Linked DNA regions of Homo sapiens: all the other regions are linked to region 3. Evidence: promoter capture Hi-C in human tissues and cell types (Jung and others, 2019). All regions are on one chromosome and are shown on one strand. Each heading gives the region's core, a stretch centred on a gene start or on the middle of the fragment in contact. The rest is flanking DNA. Distances are from core to core; before and after follow the strand shown. Region 1 overlaps NSD2 (nuclear receptor binding SET domain protein 2). Region 2 overlaps POLN (DNA polymerase nu). Region 3 holds the start of NAT8L (N-acetyltransferase 8 like).

Evidence for each region. Contacts are between HindIII fragments. The study calls those that stand out against the background at their distance.
Region 1: a contact is called between a fragment that was not itself captured here and the fragment with the promoter of NAT8L in region 3, in 3 of the 25 tissues and cell types used here (dorsolateral prefrontal cortex, lymphoblastoid cells and mesendoderm cells).
Region 2: a contact is called between a fragment that was not itself captured here and the fragment with the promoter of NAT8L in region 3, in 2 of the 25 tissues and cell types used here (adrenal gland and mesendoderm cells).

Annotation. Positions count from the first base shown.
Region 1 is chr4:1,946,657-1,949,356 of GRCh38, reverse strand. All of the region lies in intron 9 of NSD2 (nuclear receptor binding SET domain protein 2), which reads right to left. Among named protein-coding and RNA genes, the nearest start is that of MIR943, 38 kb to the left of the region's middle. The HindIII fragment of the contact is 5,987 bases long and covers 1-2,700 here.
Region 2 is chr4:2,154,046-2,156,745 of GRCh38, reverse strand. All of the region lies in intron 16 of POLN (DNA polymerase nu), which reads left to right. Among named protein-coding and RNA genes, the nearest start is that of HAUS3, 87 kb to the left of the region's middle. The HindIII fragment of the contact is 6,445 bases long and covers 1-2,700 here.
Region 3 is chr4:2,058,035-2,060,734 of GRCh38, reverse strand. NAT8L (N-acetyltransferase 8 like) reads right to left here and starts at 1,408. Exons shown (of 3, transcript NM_178557.4): 1 at 848-1,408. The coding sequence starts at 1,223. The HindIII fragment of the contact is 12,290 bases long and covers 1-2,700 here.

The sequences.
Region 1 (2,700 bases), core at 141-2,640, 110 kb after region 3:
CAGCCTCTTAATCTTGGTTTCCTCACCTTTTCCAGGAAGATGGACTAGCGTCATGAACACTAATCAGAGCAGTGCACACTTTAAGGCTCTGTCACTGTGAGGCTGCCAGGAGGGCCCTGCAAGAGCCACAGCGCACATCCTGTTCTTTAACACCCACAAAGGGCCACTTGACGTGCTCTGAGTTCAAACCTCCAATTTAACAAGCGCATCAGATATGGACTCAGCAGTGGAGACCTGAGCACTTCTGAGATGAGACTGGAGGGGGAGCCAGGGGAGCACAGGGCATGGGGAAGCAGTGGCCACACTGTCTGGGGCCCCACTCAGAGAGTCACCCACACAGTCGCCCAAGCTGACCCATCTGATGGGGGAACCAAGGCCCAGAGAAAGGGGCCTTCTGCATGGCTCAGGGGAGAGAGCCCCAGCGCTATCCACCAACCCATGCTCTTCCCTTAACGTGGTGGAACAAACTTAAAAAGCTTTAAAAATGAGAAAAAAAATGCATGGAGAGAAAGACAGAAAACACAAAGCAGTCCTGGGTCAGAGGAAGGAACAGCACCTTTTATTTCAGATTTACAGAAAAAGTTAGCACGTTTCCACTTGGAGAGATTTCCTACATTAACAAAGTCTGTTTTGAGGAAATAAACACTGAATACATATTTTGAATGGAAATATATAAATGTTAACGACACACATGAGGCTCATTTCCTGATCAGGGTCTGGGACCCACATACAGAATATAGACCTTACAATAGTACAGTCCATGACACAGATTGCAGAGATTCCGACTTTTTCCCACCACACCCCCTCCCAGCCACCGGACAGACAACTAGCCACAGTCGGGGAGGATCCAATGCTCTCGGCTCGGCAACCACCCGCAAGGAGAGCAAAGTACGAGGGCGTCCCACAGCAAGCCTTACTCCAGCCGCAGGCTCCACCTCCACGCACCAGGTGACGTGACTCACTCGGAGAAGCCATTTGTGGAGGTGGCACATTCACCTGTACGGTCCCAACATAGTCCCAAATCTCAGTCTACAACATCTACGATCTATTCCATATCCAACGAGATGCATTTGGAAAGGAAAAGTGCAGGGACTGAGCGGACACAGACTCTGTCAAGAACTTTCCCGTTGTTTCCCGCGTCCACCACAGCCATGCTGCGGCACTGAGCTCCGAGCAGCTTAGCTCCTGACTTTTCAAAGTTTTCTTCAGTCTGAAAATACTTTCTCCACTCTCTACTCAGAATAAGATAGTACCAAGTTGCCTATTTGCCTTAGAAATACATTCCTTCAGGGCAGGGAATGCAGTCTCCTTGATCTATTACAGGGACTTTTCAAGATGATATTACCAAACATAACGGAACCTAGTGAACACATTCCAGCCAACTGCTAAAAGCACGTGGCCCTTCAGGGTGACCTGTATGAGCCGCAGTCAGATGCCACCTTCTGTGACTGCAAAGCGCTCACCTACTCTTCAGAGTGGCGTCATACACATTGAGTTTTTAATTTTTTGACAAAACAAATCCCTTCACAACTTGAATACGACATCGTTTTTGAAATACAATTACAGACCTTGAACAATAAATATTTCTATAAACTGACATAATTTTCATGTTGAAATGATGGTTTTGTAAAGAAGGAAGCTGATGGCGAGAAGTACCTCCACAGTGTTTGCGTTTACAAATGACAACAGCCCTGTGCTCAGCAGATTAAATGAGTGTGAAATCAAGACTAATTTCAAACAGGTCTTCCAAGTTAACAGCACAGTAAAATGTTAAAGTGGAATTAAAATAAGTCACTCATCATCTAAAATACTATAGTTCATAACAATTTTTATTAAAGTGACCCTTCTAGGTTACACAAACTAGAAACTTCCTGGCTATCCCTAAATTCTAGGGTCAGGGCTGGGGGTGAGTCTCTGAGAACAGAGGAAGTCTCCACTCCCAGAGCACCACTGCACACCACAGTCGTCTTCTAACCTGCACAGGCTTTTGTGTAGCCGTAGCCACATAGCCCCAAGCAGGTGGCAGCAAGGACCAAGTGTCACCTGTGGCCAGAGTGAGGCCAGGTGGCTGCTGCTCCCAATTCAAGGCCTGCCCTTGTCAAAGGTAAAATGAATCTAAAATATCCTATCAACCCAACTTTGTCCCACTGTGTCCTGAGCAGCGGCCATCCCACAGGGAGTGTGCTGGGGAGGAGCCTGGTCTGGCCGACTGCAGACAGCAGGCTGTGCACTGTCTGCGAAGGACTTGAGGACAATGACAAAACTGCCCACAATACACCTGCTTCCACTGGCACAGTGCTGAGCAAACCCCCATCAGCCGGACCAGGACCCCCACCCCTACCTCAGTCATTTCTTGAAAATACTATATGCCTGGATGGTCAGCATGCTTCAAAATATTACCCGAGAGTTATATGCAAAAAGGCCAACAACTATAGGTAGGCTAGAAAAAAACACAAATGTGGACCTAACACGTAACCATGGAGTTCAAAGGTATCCAACCAAAAAGATGAGGCCTGTCGGGCTGTTGGAGAGACACCCTGCTGTAAGAATGTCCCAAAGGAAGCATGCTCCTTGCTCATCCAGTATAGGAATCAGATGAATATAATACAAATAATTTTCTACCTGCTAATTACAGTCAATTTGACATCACTGCCAGGTAAATTAGTGGTAATTTCTAACATTCTACATAAAACAATAAAA
Region 2 (2,700 bases), core at 80-2,579, 96 kb before region 3:
TGCCTTGCTATTGAAGTTTTTTCTCCATATGTGTTTGCCTGTGCACTTTCTGTTTCCAAGAGGGGACTTCATACTGATATGTTGTGTTTTATTCTGTTTATTCTGAGAACATAGCAGGAGAACAAGACAGATGGGTTCTCTTCTCATGAAGTGCTGAGTTAGCAAGAGGGGGGCTTCACACCCAGAAACCCATGCACTCCAGTGTGCAGGCAAAAAGGACACCCGTACCCCATCTTCCTTTTCAGATTTGTGCCAGACAGGTGGCTTCTGATTTCCAGAAATGTGTTGAAGTATCTGATGCTATGATGAACAGCTCCATTTTTTGGTGGTTGTTGAAGCTGTATCTCTGATGAAGAAAAAAAAAAAAAAAGCTCTAAATTCCCTTGAACTTATGATGCAGCTTGCATCACACTTAAAGCACTTAACTTTCTAAATGGCTCTGTATTTTGAACTAAAAAAGACTCATGATTAATTTCTCATTATAGAAAATTCCTTAGATACAGAAAAGAAATAAAAATAGTAATAAGTCACTTGTTATCCACTGTGCAGAACTGTGGTATCTATCTTTCCACACTTTTTGCTAAGCACATATATTTATAAAATACAATTTTTTAGGCCAGGCGCGGTGGCTCATGCCTGTAATCCCAGCACTTTGGGAGGCCGAGGCGGTGGATCATGAGGTCAGGAGTTCAAGACCAGCCTGGCCAATATGGTGAAACCCCGTCTCTACTAAAAACACAAAAATTAGCTGGGCGTGGTGGCGGGTGCCTGTAGTCTCAGGTACTAGGGAGGCTGAGGCAGGAAAATGGTGTGAACCCAGGAGGCGGAGCTTGCAGTGAGCCGAGATAACGCCACTGCACTCCAGCCTGGGTGACAGAGCGAGACTCTGTCAAAAAAAAAATACAATTTTTTTCTACAAAAATAAAGCCATGCTATTTTATATTATGCTTTCTTATTTTAACATCTCTTGATATCATTCTACATTAATATTGATTTGAATCTATATTTAAATTTAAATATATGAATTAAATATGTGAATTATTTAAGTACACACTAACATATATATATAAATATGAATATGTATTCATGGTAAAGAAATACAAGTATGTGGAGGTTTACAGAATGAGCAAATGTTAGTCATCTTTCCCTTCCCTCCGTAACATGTGTCTGTCCCGTGGGTTCCCTCCATTAAGGGTCAGGCCTTCACCCAGGCATTTGCATAGATGGTGTACCGAGTGCATGCAGGCAGAGGGACACACTCAGGTGACTGTGTGAGGAAGAGGAAGAGAGGCTGGGATGGGGTGAGTTTGCGCTAATCGTGTGGCCTCTTGGGTGCATGGACACCCACTCTTGGTCAGTCAGCTCTCGGGCTGCCAGCTGTCTCTGGCCTTGCACTTTAGGGAGCTCTTCTGGGGTCTTTATCTAGCGAAGAGTGGTAGTAATAGCAATAGTAATGTGAATACCAATACCAGCACCAATATCCATGTGAATACCAGTGCCATCTCCTCTGAATGCAGGCACTGCTGCCACGTTACCCTTGGGCTAATTTCTCAACCAACCACAACTGCTGTAGTTTCTCTTAGTTGATACTTCTTATCTAAGAGTTATTTAGGAATTCTGCTGAGAAACTTTTCGTGGAGGTCCTTGCTTTTGTTTTTATGCAGTTATAAGTTTCTTTTTCCATTACATTTTCAGTAAATCTCTTGCTGTGTTTTATTCTCTTCCAGAAGTTTCTGAAGGGTCTGGTTTGTGAGTAGCACTCCTCCCAGGTTCTCAGTGAAGCTCTAATTTTACCTATTTATTTTTCTGTTATTTCAGTTGAACTTTTGGAAAGATGAGATGTAAACATAACATGTGCATTCAGCCATGACCTTTAACTGGAAGTTTGTGTCATCTTTTTAACAGCTGCATTGTATTCCATTTAATGGCTGCCCCTATTGATGGTCATTTAGATTGTTTGCAGTTTTAATTATTTTATAGAAATACCATAAACATACCTGTACTTTATCATAGCAATACCATACAAACTTCAATAGCAATACCATAACCAATACCATGAACATTTTTGGTACTTTTTTCTGTTGATTTCTATAGTGCAATTTCCTAGAGATAGAATTTCTGAGTCACAGTATATATGTATTTTTAAGGCTTTATGTTGCCAAATTAGCCTCTCGCCAAAAATAACATTCCCACCACATAGTATGTGAAATGCTTGGTCCCTTAATCCTTGCCAACACAAGGAATTTTCGTTTTGATTACTTTCCTGACTCATTTTTTCAATTTCCATTTCTTTAAATATTTGTTGAGGTTGACTACATGAAACAATTATTCTTCTTTGAATTGCCTGTTCATGTCATTTGCCCATTTCTCTGGAGGGTGTTTATTTTTTCCTATTGGTATGGAAAAGCTCTTTATATAATAAAAATTAACCCTTTATGAAATGTTGAATTATTTTCCTCCAATTTTCTTTTGCCTTTTAACTTTTAAGATATATATTCTGGTTTGCCATACTTAAAATGTCTTTTTTTTTTTTTTTTTTTTTTTTTTGTTGAGATGGAGTCTCGCTGTCGCCCAGGCTGGAGTGCAGTGGCGTGATCTCAGCTCACTGCAAGCTCTGCCTCACTGGTTCATGCCATTCTCCTGCCTCAGCCTCCCGAGTAGCTAGGACTACAGGCACCCGCCACCACGCCCGGCTAATTT
Region 3 (2,700 bases), core at 159-2,658:
CCGGGAAGGACTCTGCCCACGCTGGCCTACTGAAGCCAAGGTGGGCAGATCCTGGCAGGGAGCTGCCCCGCAGACCAGGCCCCGCGCGGGGGAGGGGGGAGGGGGGAGGAGGAAGGGGGGTGTCCCACGTTCCAGCCTCGGGCTCCAGGACCCCCTCTTCCCAGGGCCCCAGCAAGAGCCCTTCCTGGCCAGCGTCCGGGAGCTCTGAGGGCAGGGACAGGGCAGGGAGGCCCCACACCGCTTCCAGCCGCATTTCGGCTGCCGTGACCTTGGGGGAGTCGCGTCCTCCCTACGCGGCCTCAAGCGCCTCATCTGTAAAATGGGAGCGAACCCCCTCACCCCGGCAGGAAGCTCTGAGGGGAAGGGCACCCAAAGACGCTGAAGGGGCCGCCCTCTGCGACCGCCCCGGCTGTGCCAGGCGCGCGCACCCCCCGCGGCGCCGGCTGTCTTCCCCTCATAAATTAGCACCGAGCGGGAGGCGGCCTCCCCCGCCCGCAGATTATATTTAGGCACTCGCCGGGGCCCAGCCGCGGCGGGCGCTACCTGCCCTGGCACCCGCCCCCACCCAGGATGCCCGGGAGGGGACAGGGGAGGCGGTGGGGGTGGGGGGCTGCGCGGCGGGGACGCAGGTGCGGACCCCGGACCCTCCCCGGCTCCGGCCCGCTCGGGGCCCTGCGCCCATCCCCACGCCCATAGCCAGCCCTGCGCGGGGCCCGGCGCGGCAGAAAGCGGGGGGCTTCCCAGGCTGGTCCCCGGGAGCCGGGCGCGGGGTCCGCGTGGACGCCGGGGCGGGGGAGCTCCGCGCCGGCCCGAGGGACTGCGGCAGCCGGGGGCCCGGCGCACTGACCCGCCAGCAGGGCGTAGAGCAGCTGCGCGCGCGGGTGCTGCCGCAGGCCGCGGAAGGCCGTGTTAGGGATGCGCTCCATGATGCCGTCGTAGAAGATGCGGCGCGCCGCCTCCTGCTCGGCCGCACGGAACTCGCGGATGCACACGCCGCGCCCCCCCGGCGGCCCCGCGCCCCCCGCCCCGCCGTGAGGCTGAGCCACCGGGGCAGGTGGGGGCGCGGGGGGCGCGGCGGCCGGCCCGGGCGCGGCGGGCAGCGGGGGCCACATGGCGCCGGCGGCGGCGAGCAGCGCGTCCTTCTTGGCCCCCGGCAGCGCCTCATGGTCCTCGGCGGCCACGATCTTCGTCTCGCAGACCATGTCGGGAGGCCCACAATGCATGCACCCGGCCGGGCGGCGCGGCAGCGGGGACGCGGCCGGGCGGCGGCGGGCACGGCCGGGCCCAGGGCAAGGGCGCGGCGCCCTCGGACCCGCGGCGGCGGCGGCGGCGGCGGCAGCGGCGGCGGCGGCGGCGGCAGCTCAGGGGCGCGGGGCGGAGGCGGCGGGCGGCCGGGGCGCGCGCAGGGAGCTGCGCCGCATTTTGGAGAAGTATTTATAATGCGGCGGCGCCGGTGCAGTCGCGGCGCCCGCGGCCCGCAGGGTCCTAGCGTCCACTGCATTGGCTGCCGGGGGTCACCATGTGATCGCGGGGGTGGGGGAGACGCCGCCCCCGCCTCGCCGGGTGGCTCGCTGGGCGCGACGGGGCGGCCGGGCAGCGCGAGGGGCCCGGCACGGGCGGGGGCGGCGGCGCGGGCGGGGGCTCCTGGCCCGGGGGCGTCCGGCGGGGCTCGGGACCCGGCCGCGGAGCGCGTGATGGGCGCCGCCCGCCCCGCCCCCCGCTCCCACGCCGCGCGCCTGGGAGCGCCCCGACCCCGGGCCCGACCGCTGGCGATCGCGGCGCCACGTCCTCCTCCTCCTCCTCCGCGGCCGCCCGGAGCAGTCACGGCAGCGTCTCCCGCTCCGTCTCCTGCCTTTGTTTGAAAGCAGCGCCCGCGGTGGACCTGGGGAGAGGGCGCCGCGGCTGCCCCGGCCCGGAGCCCCCGGGAAGCCTCGTCCGGAGCCGCACGGGCAGCCGGAGTGGGGACGCGGAAGGGCGGGGTCTGCGGCCTGGCGCGGCGCCCCCCTGTCCGAGCCCCGCAGTGGGCACGGGGATGCGGGGCCCGCAGGACCCCTCCCGGCCCGGCCCCCGCCCCCCGCGGCCGCGCATGCGCCCCGTGGCCTCGGTGCAGGTGCAGCGGGGGCTCTGCGCCTTGTAGGACCTGCAGACGCCGCAGGCTGGGGCGGAGAAGCTCAGGTGCGGGGAGGCGGTCGCAGACCCCATCCTCGGCGCTTCTCGAACCTAGCCCCCTTCAGTTCTGCGCGACCTCCCAGCACCACCCCGAGGGCTGCCGGAGCAGAGCTTCCCCGACATGCGCGGGCGGGACGGGGCCAGGGGTCCAGGCCTGGGGACCCGCAGTCTGCGTTGTGCGGTGGAGTTGGGGCCAGCCGGGCAGCTGAGGTCACCTGAAGGCCAGGAGGGGCTGGGCCTGCCCGTGGACGTGGGAGTGAGGCCGCAGCGCCCTGGTGGGGTGGGGAGGGGCGGCTGAACTGGTCCACAGCCCCGTCCGCCAGAGAACGGGCCCTGGAGAGGGGCAGGGGACGGGGTGGGGGCGTGGGGGGGAGGGGAAGCCAAGCTGGGAAGGCGCCCCCTCAGTGTCTGGGGCCCGCTGTCAGCTTTTCAACCTAAAGGAGAAAACAGGCAAAACGAATAGAAATAGTTTGTTGGGGCCAAGTTTGAGGACTGCAGCGTGGAAGGACAGACTCAGGTTGGTCTGAATGC